Regions from separate parts of the Homo sapiens genome. Here region 2 is linked to region 1. Evidence: promoter capture Hi-C in human tissues and cell types (Jung and others, 2019). All regions are on one chromosome and are shown on one strand. The core of a region is centred on a gene start or on the middle of the fragment in contact, and the rest is flanking DNA. Distances in the headings are between cores, read along the strand shown. Region 1 holds the start of KRTAP19-6 (keratin associated protein 19-6). Region 2 holds the start of LOC105372773 (a long non-coding RNA gene).

Region 1 (6,079 bases), core at 3,058-5,557:
TTAAGGAGGAAATTGAAAAACTTATGAAAATAAATGGTAACGAAAACACAGCTTACCAAAACCTGTGGGATAAAGTGAAAGCAGTATTAACAGGGAAATTTACAGCTCTAACTGCCTATATCAAAAAAGAATCAAACTTTCAAATAACTAACCTAACAATGCATTTTGAAGAACTAGAAAAGCAAGTCTAAACCAAACCCAAAATTAGTAGAAGAAAAAAAAATAATAAAGATTAGAGGAAAAATAAATAAAATGGAAATGAAGAAAACAATACAAAAGATCGATGAAATGAAAGTTTGCTTTTAGAATAAACAAAATTGACAAGCTATAGCCAGACTAAGAAAAAAAGAGAGAAGATCTAAGTAACTAAAATCAGTTATAAAAAAGAAGACATTATAATTGATATTATAGAAATTCAAAGGATCTTTAATAGCTGCTATGAGCAAATATATGCCAATAAATTGGAAAATCTAGAGGAAATAGGCACATTCCTGGACACATAAAACCTATCAAGATTAAACCATGAAGAACTCTGAAACCTGAACAGACCAATAACAAGTAATGAGATCAAAGTCATAGTAATTAGTCTTCCAGTAAAGAAAAGCCTGAGACTCGATGGCTTCACTGCTGAATTCTACCAAGCATTTAAAGAGAATTAATATGAATCCTACTTAAACTATTCCAATAGATAGAGAAGTAGGAAGTACTTCCAAATTCATTCTACAGGGATAGTACTACCCTGTTATCAACACCAGACAAAGACACATCGAAGAAAGAAAAGTACAGGCCAGTGTCTCTGATGAATATAGGTGAAAAAATCCCCAACAAAATACTAACAAATGATATCAAAGAACACATTAAAAAGATCATTCATCATGACGAAGTGGGATATATTCCAGGGATGCAAGGACAGTTCAGTATACACAAATCAATCAGTGTGATGTGTTGTATCAACAGCATGAAGGACAAAAACCATATGATCATTTCAATTGATGCTAAAAAAAGCATTTGATATAACAACATTCCTTTATTACAAAAATGGAGGGCCGGGCACAGTGGCTCATGCCTGTAATCCTAGCACTTTCAGAGGCCAAGGCGAATGGATCACTTGAGGTCGGGAGTTGGAGACCAGCCTGACCAACATGGAGAAACCCTGTCTCTACTAAAAATCCAAAATTAGCCAGGTGTGATGGCGCAGGCCTGTAATCCCAGCTACTTGGGAGGCTGAGGCAGGAGAATCGCTTGAACCCGGGGGGTGGAGGTTGCAGTGAGCCGAGATCGCGCCATTGCACTCCATCCTGGGCAACAAGAGCCAAACTCCATCTCAAACAAAAAAAGGGGGGATGGAGGAACTGAGAGTTTTTTCTCTAATATCTGGAACATGAGGAGGGTGACCACTTTGACCATATTTATTCATAGTACTGGAAGTGCTAAACAGAACAGTGAGACAAGAGAATGAAATAAAGTACATCCAAATTAGAAAAGAAGAAGTCAAATGTCATTGTTTGCAGATGATGTAATTTGACATTTAAAAACACCTAAAGATTCAGTCAAAATTATTAGAACTGATAAACAATTCAGTAAATTTGCAGGATATAAAATCAACATACACAAATCAGTAGCATTTCTATATGCCAACAGTGAACAATGTGAAAAAGAAATTTAAAAAGTAATCCCTTTTACAATAGTGACATGTAAATTTAAACACTTAGAAATTAGTGCAACCAAATAAGTAAAAAACGTCTACAATGAAACTATAAAATGCTGATGAAAAAATTAAGAGGACACAAAAAATGGAAAAAATATTCCATGTTCATGGATTGGATCAATATTGTTAAAATGTTCATACTACCCAAAGTGCTCTAAAGATTCAATGCAATCTTATTAAAATACCAAAGACACTCTTAACAGAAATAGAAAAAAAAATTCTAAAATTTTTAAGGAGCCAAAGAAGACACAGAACAACCAAAGTTATCTTGAGGAAAAAGAACAAAACGAAGGATCACATTACCTTCAAATTATATTACAGAGCGATAGTAACCAGTAACAGCACGGTACTGTAATAAAAACAGACACATAGACCAACGGAACAGAAGAGAGAACCCAAAAACAAGTTCAGACACCTACTCATTTTTGACAAAAGTGCCAAAAACATACACATGGGAAAAGACAGTCTCTTCAATAAATAGTGCTGGGAAAACTGTACATTCATGTGCAGAAGAATGAAACTAGTCCCCTATCTCTCCCCATATACAAAAATCAAATCAAAATGAATTAAAGACTTAAATAAAAGTAAACTATGAAACTGCTATAAGAAAACATTGGGGAAACTCTCTAGGGCATTGGTCTCAGCAAAAATTCCTTGAGTAAGATTCCACAAGCACAGGCCACCAAAGCAAAAATGGACACATAGGATTACATCACGTTAAAAAGCTTCTGCACAGCAAAGGAAGCAATCAACAAAATGAAGAGACAACCCACAGAATGGAAGAAAATATTTGTAAACTATGCATCTGACAAGGGATTAATAACCAGAATATATAAGGAGCTCAAACAAATCTGTACGGAAAAAAAAAATCTAATAATCTGATTAGAAATGGACAAAAGAACCAAATAGATGTTTTGGAATCCTCATTCGCTATTAGTGGGGATGGAAATTAGTACAACCACTATGGAGAACAGTTTGGAGGTTTCTCAAAAAACAAAGAATGAAGCTACCATATGACACAGAAATCCCACTGCTGGTGCTAAACTCATCTTTAGCATCAAACCTAATCTCTAGTCCCTGACACCATGAGCTACTACAGCAGCTACTATGGAGGCCTGGTATACATCCAAAGGAAGGGAAAACAGTATATCAAAGAGATATGTGCACTCCCATGTTTGTTGCAGCACTGTTCATAATAGCAAAGATTTGGAAGCAACCTAATTTTCCACCAACAGATGAATGGATAAAGAAAATGTGGTATGTATACACAATGGAGTACTAGTCAACCATAAAAAATAATGAGATCCTGTCATTTGCAACAGAATGGATGGAACTGGTCGTCATTATGCTAAGTGAAATAAGTCAGGCACAGAAAAACAAACTTTGTATGTTCTCACTTATTTGTGGGAGCTAAAAATTGAAAACAATTGAACTCATGGAGATAGAGACTAGAAGGATGGTTAACAGAGAATGGAAAGGGGAGTAGGTGGGTGCAGGGTAGGGGTGGGGAGGGATGTGAGTGATGGAGGAGTAGGGGTGGTTAATGGGTACAAAGGAATAGAAATGATGAATAAGACCTAGTATTTGATAGCACAAAAGTGTGGCCATACTAAGTTATACTCTCTTAGTTATTTTAAAATGTATAATTAAATTGCATTTAAATTAAATTATTGATTTAATCGAACATTTTAAAATAAGAGAGTGTAATTGAATTGCTTTAACACAAAGGATAAATGCTTGAGGGGATGGATACCCTATTTATCATTTACCAGTGATTATTACTCCATTAACCAGTGATTAGTATGCATTGTCATGTCTGTATAAAAGTATTTCATATACCCCATAGATATATATACTCTACTATGTATTCTTAAAAATAAAATTTGAAAAAAGAAAAATAATATTTAATGGAACTTCATGGGAAAAGTGTATGCAGAGGAAAAGGTACACTTTTGAAGTTAATGGATGAATAAAAAATTGGGAAGAAGCCTAACAAAAAATTGGCAGAGGAAGCTAATTGAAGGTTTCTCATAGAAATTAAGGCAAGAAAGCTTTACAAAAGAATGAATGGATGGAAGGTTAGCAATGTCAAAGGTCAATTAAAGTTCAAATGAGTCAAAAACCAAGGTTTCCTCTAAATTTGACTACTGGAAATCACTAATGACTTTGTGACTATGCCCTGACTACCATGAAGAGAAGTCCTTGGGTTCTGGGAATGAAGTAACCAAGACGATGGACTGCAAATTAAAAAGAAAAGCAATATGAGGTTATGTAATTACAGCGTTACTGGAAGCTATCAACCCGATTAGACCATTTTAATTACAACACCAGCCTGGCCTTTGAAGTGGCTATAATCATTTTTCATCTTCAAAATATTTTGTTCTTAGGAATGCAAACTAAAGACTAAAAGTCTTTAAATAATAGTTTGGACCCTTTGTTACATAAGAAAAGAAAAAAAATAAACAATTGTTAGACTTAAAATTATTCTGTTATGTGGAAATAAGATCACCTGTCATTGTTGTTCATGACACCCACTACTTAGAGTATAAAATCATTCTGAGAAGTTAGAGACACCTACACTCAGGAAACTCATCATTAGCATTGAACTGAATCTCTAGTCCCTGACACCATGAGATACTATGGCAGCTACTACAGAGGCCTGGGATATGGCTGTGGAGGCTTTGGTGGTCTGGGCTATGGCTGTGGCTGTGGAGGCTACAGATATGGCTCTGGCTATGGAGGCTATAGATATGGCTGCTGCCGCCCATCATGCCGTGAAGGATATGGATTCTCTGGATTCTACTAAAAAACTTGCTGATTCTCATACTCTAACTCCAAGATCTTGCCCGTATGCTTCAGCAAGGCGAACACTTTTCTCAATGTAGAGAAAATACCTACCATTTTTTGGCTTCATGCTCCAGAAGGAACTAGCCATCAGTTTTTATGGAAGAATCTGGAATCATTACATTGAATCAGGGTTTCACCTATTATTATTTAGTCACTGACATCTGTTGTGACATGTATTTTAAAATAGTTTTAAATAAACACGTTTAACTTGAATAGCAAACATGGCTTTATCAATTCATTTTAGTACATTTCAAATGCATTGATGAGACTTCAATCAAGCTGTTTGTCTTCTTTCCTCTGAATTGGTGTTTTTATTTCAACAGTTTTGCCTCAATAATATATTTTATTCAACATATATTCATTGTGTGTCTCCAAATTTGGGCACCATTCTAAGTCCTGAAGATATAAAAGAATAAGATGGACAAAATCACTGTGTACTTTCATCTGTCTTTACTTTTTATCTGTTTTCAGTGGTTTTGTGTGTGATTTTGTTTTTAGAATATGATTATGTACACTATTATTTTTATGACTTAGTTTTAAACAATAACTTATTGCAATCTTCATTCCAATTAGTGTGTTTGTATTCTGAGGTTTATCTCAAAGCACAGTAATTCTATGTTAATCAATGAAAGCGAATTTTAAATAAAACATTGAGTTAATATAAATAATATTTGTAATAATACGTAAGGTCTAAAGAATGCTATCAAAGCTCGCATGTACCCAACACTGACTTATCAAATGTATAATGTCCTTTATGTATAATCAATTTTAAACTATTGAACATATGAGAATCTACTCTACCTCCTTGACAAGTTAAATTACTTGTCTTTCTGTGTTCCTACCTGTAGAGTTCAAGCCTTGCTTCCCAAAAGATATTATTTCTCAAAAGTAAACCTGAGGGATGTCTGAATTAAAAACACCGAGAGAGGCCGGGCACGCTGGCTCATGCTTGTAACCCCAGCACTTTGGGAGGCCGAGGCGGGTGGATCACCCAGGGTCAGGAGTTCGAGACCAGCCTGGTCAACATGGTGAAACCCCGTCTCTACTAAAAAAACAAAAATTGGCTGGGTGTGGTGGCACGTGCCTGTGGTCCCAGCTACTTGGGAGGCTGAGGTGGGAGAATCGCTTGAACCTGGGAGGCAGAAGTTGTAGTGGGCCGAGATTATGTCACTACACTCCAGCTTGGGTGACAGAATGAAACTCTGTTTAAAAAAAGAAAAAAGAAAAGAAAAGAAAAGAAAAAAAAAGAAAAGAAAAACCCCATGACAACATTTTTACCAATTTAATTTTTAATTTTCTGGAGGATAACTTAGATAATTAGTTTTCATTAGTTTTGCTATTGGTCTGCTGACTACTCGTCAAAATTTCCTTGAAAATAACTATTCTAGATAGTACTTAAGGTCTCTTAAATTTCTTAAATTTCAGTAATTCTTGACATACATTTCTACTCCTACCATCTTGCCAGTGAACAATGTTTTTGTAGTAGCTTTCAGGTACTTTCCACTCTATGTCATGTAAGAGTTA
Region 2 (6,648 bases), core at 3,213-5,712, 180 kb before region 1:
CTCCACCATCAACCCTAATTCAATGTCATTGCCATTCCTAAAACTTAAAAGGAAGAGAAGATGGAAAAGAAAAGATAAGGAATAGAGAAAACAGATCAGAGAAGCTGAAAGGAAAGCCTCCAATGCAGCCACGCCATTGTTGGAGATGGTTTTTACCTGTAAGTTTCTCAGCCTTGCAGCATCCACTCCCCATGCCTTTCAATCCCCTTGTACCTACTCATTGCTTTTCTCAGATATTGTGCTTTCAGACTGATTTGATTTCAGATTCATTGCTTTTCTCAGATATTGCACTTTCAGATTTATTTGAAGCTTTCCTTTATTTAGAGCAGTGACTCAAATCCGAATGCATGTCAGATTCCATTAAATGGCAATACCTGAGTCCCACCTTTGAGATTTTGGTTTTATTGGTCTGAGATGGGAGTACTGGCATTTTATTAAAGTTTTCCCACGAAATACAATGCACATCCATGATTGAGAAGATATCCCTATCACCTCAAAGTTGGCTAAGAATTGTGCCCCAGACCACAGAAGTGAGAATTTTCCCCAAATTGCCAAACCATCTTTCTTTTCTTCCACCTGGAAATGTGTACTTTCCATTTGATTGAGATTAAAGTTCAAAAGTATCTCTGTAGTTAAATTTGTGTGGAGAATGCAAATTATAACAATGACTGAGGATTCAGGCAGTTCAGCTTCTGACTTACGGTTGATGACTGATTTTATGCGTCAACTTGGCTAAGCTACAAAGACCAAATGTTTGGTCGAACACCAGTCTAAAGGTTGCTATGATGATATTTTTCAGATAAGGTTGGCATTTAATCAGCAGACTTGAGAAAAGTCACGTACCTTCCATAATGTGGGTGAGCTTCCTCCAGGCAGTTGAGGGCCTTAAGAGAAAAGGGTGATGTCTACCAGAGGAAGAGGGAAATCTGCCTTCAACCTGAGTTCACATTCAAGTTGCAAGATCAGCTCTTCCCTGGGTCTCCAGCCTGCTCAGCAGATTTTGATTTTGCTAGCCCCTACAATCATGTGAGCCAATGCTTTAAAATCTGCCTCTTCTCTCGCTCTGTCTCTCTGTATCCCTCCCTCCCTTTCTCTCTCTCTCTCTTTATTGTCCCCCAATTTCTCTCCCTCTCCTTGCTTCTCTCTCTTCTCTCTCTCCCCGCTTATCTCCCTTCTGGCCTCTCTCCTCTCTACTCCTCCTCCTTTTCTCCCTCCCCACTTTTCTCTCTCTTTTCTCTCCCTCTCTACTCTCCTCTTTCTCTCTCCCCCTCACTCTCCCTCTTTTTTCTCTCTCCTCCCTCTCTTTCCCTTTCTCTCCTCTCTCTCTCATTCCTCTTTGCCTCTCTCTCCCTCACTCTTCCACCTCTTCCTTCTCTCTCTCTCTCTGTGTGTGTGTGTGTGTGTGTGTGTATGTATGTATTTCCTTCATGCATCCTGTAGGTATGTGTATACACATACTTACATGTAGACACACACATCCTACTGTTATTTTTTCTTGGGAGGACCGTAACACACCATTGAACTAGGTGGAAGTGAGATTAACTGCTAAGGCCCTGGGGTTTATGGCTTCCCTTTGGGTAACTTTGTCCCCTGAACAGAATACAGATCAACATTGAGTCCCCTGAATTTCTCTTAAACCTGAGCATGAGATAGTCTCTCTAGGGTCCTCAGCTCGAGTCTGTGATCTCTGTTCCTTATCTCACCCCTATTCAGAGCTGGTAAGATATGCATAAAAGATGGTGGATGATAAACTTAAAATCTAACATTTGGGTTCTAAAACCTTTACAAATATTCAGACTTATGTAGCAGCTAGATGATTGAGCTTTCCACAATAACCTCTGCACTTTAGATTCCAGTTTCAGAACTGCACATTAAACCAATTTTGGCGGAGGGTACAAGGCAAATGTTAGATAAAACATGGAATATTAACCTTCACAGCAAAACCTTTTAGATTCATTTAGATAACTGATTGCTCAAATAGCCTGTTTCCATTATTGTCTAAGCTTTGTGAATCACAGAAAGTACACTGCTAATCACCACTTGTCTGGTTTTAAACAGGTCAGAATGTCCTCAAAAATAAAAGCTCAGTAAGCCATTAACCTTTTGTGTTGGCCACTGCTATTTTATCTAGAGACCTTGTTATGAGGACAAGACGATTGATCTATGGCAGTGGTTCTGAAATGATAGTGTGTATTAAATTAACCAGAGTGCTTGAAAAACATAGAGTTTTTGGGTCCTACTCCTAGACCTTCTGATTTAGTAGGTTTTGGGTAGAACCTCAAAATCTGCAATTTTAACAAATTCCCAAGTGATGCTGATAACTGCTGATCCATACACTCCACTTTTAGAAACTCTAACTCTTAAAAATTGCAGTGGAGCAAATGAATTAATGGAAAATATATTTTTTCACCTGGGTTCAGTAGGTGATCAACAGGGATTTATCGAGCACTTAATATGTGTTTGGTCAGCACCATGATAGTGTTGTGTAGATGAGAATAGTTGCTGAGATCAAAGAACTAACCATCCATTTGGAAGATCAAGACTAACATACCTATTTGTAGAAAAGAACAAAACTTGAGATATAACAGCTTATGTGTCACAGATGAAAAGACTGGCAGGAGTTCATAGGAAAGGAAGATAATGAGGACTCCGGGAACTGCAGAAAGCTTCTGTCGAAGGGGAAATGAACTGGGCTTGGAAGAACTGCATTAATAGATTAGAAAATCAGAAATTCAAGGTGGGAGAGTCACTGGGGACAGAGGCAGAATGGGCATTAAATCGGCTGTTTAGGGGAAATGGTTGGTGTCTTGCACATGAATGTATTTAACAAATAATGTGATGATTACCATGACTTAGAGTGGTAAACAGATTTGGAATGGTTAGGGGAAGAGGTATATTATGAGAGATCTGTGAGCCCAGGCAGAGGATATAGAATTAGCACAGTAGGAGATTCAGAATATTAAGCAGAAGAAATGCATGATAAAAGTAATATGTAGGAAATATAAATTTAGAAACAATGTGCAGAATAGGTTGGACAGTGTGGAAACGAAAGATGCATTGAGTTCCTGGAGCTAAGGACTTATTGGGGTGGGGGGGTCCAAGAGTGAGAAGATTAGGACCAGAATTAAGCCTGTTGCAGTAAGAGTAAGAAAATAGATACCAAAATTTTGTATGGAAAATGATTTGTTTCAGTGACATAAACAAATGCATAAATGTGGTACTTTTGAATGTGGGTATTCATCAAGAAAGGAAATGTTATTAACAGGGAGAAATATTTTTAAAATTTAGTTTTGCCAGAGAGATGTATCTGGTTTTGGATATGTTGATTTGAGGTAATAATACATTCAAAAAAATTATCTAGCTAAGATTTGTATATTTAAGGAGAGTACACGACATATCAATTTGAAAGTAACTGATATTAATTTTTTATTTAAAGCTGTAAATGTGAGAGAAAATATTTACTCACACACATTTATTCCTTAAGTTTTAATGGATCACTTTCTGTAAGTCAGACATTGTAGTGGGAGTACAAATGGGAAATTAATAAGAGAATTTAGAGAGAGAAAGTCAAGGAATTGAATCTAGGAAGGGCTCCTTAGTTAGAGTTTGGGTAGAGTCAGAGGAATAAATGAAGAAAACACATGAAAGGTACAGTTGTAAAAAGAGAATGAGGATGGTGTTGAAAAGGGTTGGAAGTAGAGGAAATGATACCTTGTGGCAGCAGAGGTCAACGATAACCATGGAGAAGAAATGTGACTGGCATTGGCAAAAGAAAACATTAAAAATCTCTTAGGGAAGAGTAGGCAGAAGAAGGGAGTAGATTTGAAGAGACTGATGAAGATAGAGCCATAGAGCAATAAAAGTAGAAACAAGTTAGGATACCACGTTGGTGGAGAGCTAATAATTTGAAGGAAGAAAAAAATACCTCATCTTCTGAGACTGAAGGGAAAACACAACAGAAATATGACTTATTTTCAATACAATCTTTTTTTCAAAATTAAACATATATTTTTACATAAATCTATAATGATTAAATATTTTTTGCATATAATCTACTCTTATAAATTATATATGCATTTAAATGTGAACATTAAATGGATGCTGACTTTGAACTAAAGGTATTTCTATTAATATTATCACCGTATTTAATTTTTACATGAATATTTTGGAGAATGAGATAAATTAAATCTAACAAAGTGAATTATAAAATATCTAGTAGAATAATAAATTGCTTATTTTCTTCTTTCTATTTAAAAAAATTTGCAGGCAAATGAATGTGAACATTCACATTTTCTTTCCCCTGACGTAGAGAAATCTTCATGAGGATGGAGAACATAGGAGTTAAGCCACTTTCAGAGGTGGGAATGGAAATTTTCAGATTTGATGATGTTCCAGGTAGAGAAATAACACCATTGATTCAAGAAAGAAAAATGGGCCTAAAAGGTCAGTAGTATATTTGGTAAGAAGTAGAAAATAGCTGGGGGAAGAATATGAAACTTAATTTTACCATCACATATTTTGGAAATTTATTGGTGATTTTACAGAGAGGGCTATTATGGTCAAAGACATAGTTGTATACTTTACAAATGAAGGCTAGGGGTATACAAATTCCGAATTTTACTTAAAGTGGCACAGGGTCATCACTGCTATTAACATGAGACCTTAGCTGAGAAAATGAAAGGGAAAATATGGGAAAGATGAATAAATTTGCAATAAATTTTGCATTTGACTTAATGTGGTGAATTTTTACTAATGAAAAGCTGAAAATAATTACATAATATGTCATCAATAATCGGGAAATTAAGCAGAAACAAATTTTCAGAATACGAATGAATTCTTATATGGTTAGGAAATACTTTTCAGAGCAACTCAGCATTTTTGGGTCAAGAGAAAAATAGCAACCACAATTCCTTACAGTCACATGAAAGTCAAAAGTCTGAAAAGGAACAGATACTTAAGTGTATGAAATGATAGAAAAAAAAATCCACAATAAAATACATATTGCAGTTCTAATTTCCCTGTACAAAGTAAGATGCTTGCAGGGGTATAGAATGTACAGAGCAAAATATAAAACAAAAAATAAAAATAATAACAAGGTTCTCACTTTTAAAGAGACTGCATATATTAAAATAGGTAACATGAGACATATATGCAAAGAAACACATGATACATCATAATACGGATAATTTGCAGCAAAAGATGGTTCAAATAAAGTATCAATTAAAAACATTTTTTTTAGAAAGATGATCTCACTCTGTCACCCAGGCTAGAGTGCAGTGGTCTGATCATAGGTCACTGCAGCCTCAAATTCCTGGGCTTAAGGGATCCTCCCACCTCAGCCTCCTGAGTAGCTGGGACTATAGGCATGTGCCACCACATTCTGCTAATTTATTTTATTTTATTTTGTAGAGACAGGGTCTCATTATGTTGCCCAGGCTAGTCTGGAACTCATGCCCTTAAGTAATCCTCCTGCCTTAGCCTCCCAAAGTGGTGAAGTTACAGGTGTGAGCCACTGTGCTCAGGTACCAAATTTTAGAAGCTTTTTTCAGATTGTCTAAGATTCAATCCTCACTGAGCATCTTAAATATAGATTTTCAACTCTCATGGGCAAGAAAATACCATATTTAGGTTGAGTTGAGACTAATTTTGTAATTGAGTCCCATCAAAGGTTTATTTTCAAAATATTCAGTTTAATCTAGGCAAAACTGCTTACCCAATGGTTATTTTAAAAGATGACCTTCGAGACCATCCTGGCTAACAAGGTGAAACCCCGTCTCTACTAAAAATACAAAAAATTAGCCGGGCGCGGTGGCAGGCGCCTGTAGTCCCAGCTACTGGGGAGGCTGAGGCAGGAGAATGGCGTGAACCCGGGAAGCGGAGCTTGCAGTGAGCCGAGATTGCGCCACTGCAGTCCGCAGTCCGGCCTGGGCGACAGAGCGAGACTCCGTCTCAAAAAAAAAAAAAAAAAAAAAAAAAAGATGACCTGTTTGACTTAATGTGGCCTATTTGCTTGTGCTGTATAAAAACGCCAACAGTCTCTTTAGTGATTTGGAAACTTGAACACTCATAAGATTTTCATATTTGAACATATACTCTAAGACGATAACTTTCAAAAGAACTTAAAAGTTATTTCTCAACTTAAAAAGTTATTTTGTTACACAAATATGTTAGTTTATTGAAGAATGTCAAGCTGGTTTTCTTTACACAGTTGTCCTCCTAAGGATAATTAAAATGCTATCATGGCGTTCCAGTTTGTACTCCTACTACAATACCTGGCATTTAGGTGCAAGTAAAACTTACAGCGCATATGTAAATTGTGAATACTCTGAAGGTGTTTTTATTTTATAGTGTTTGATAGCACATTTTAAAATCTTGGAAACTCTATTTCTTGGAATACATTTTAATACCTCCCAGTCCTAGTGTTCCTGGAAACATAATTGGAAAATAAAATGCCACAAATTCAATGCAACCATGGCTAGTGCTCAAGGAAAGATCTTTGCTCAAGAGAATAATTTAGCAAATAATGGTTTCGAAGAAATAGGACATTACTAAGTACACTGGATAAATGGTTGTGATTTCTGTATCTCAAAATATTGAGCTGATTATGCCATTAATTTGCTCAAAATCTTCTCTGGTTCTCCATTACCT

What was found. The method cuts DNA at HindIII sites, captures the fragments that hold promoters and counts their contacts. A contact is called where the count stands out against the background at its distance.
Region 2: a contact is called between a fragment that was not itself captured here and the fragment with the promoter of KRTAP19-6 in region 1, in 1 of the 25 tissues and cell types used here (hippocampus).

The regions. Positions count from the first base shown.
Region 1 is chr21:30,540,092-30,546,170 of GRCh38, reverse strand. KRTAP19-6 (keratin associated protein 19-6) reads left to right here and starts at 4,307. Exons shown (of 1, transcript NM_181612.3): 1 at 4,307-4,636. The coding sequence starts at 4,338. The coding sequence ends at 4,514. The HindIII fragment of the contact is 7,735 bases long and covers 3,097-6,079 here.
Region 2 is chr21:30,719,895-30,726,542 of GRCh38, reverse strand. It overlaps LOC105372773 (a long non-coding RNA gene), which reads left to right and starts at 797. Exons shown (of 3, transcript XR_937655.3): 1 at 797-1,026; 2 at 4,267-4,443. The HindIII fragment of the contact is 4,254 bases long and covers 2,336-6,589 here.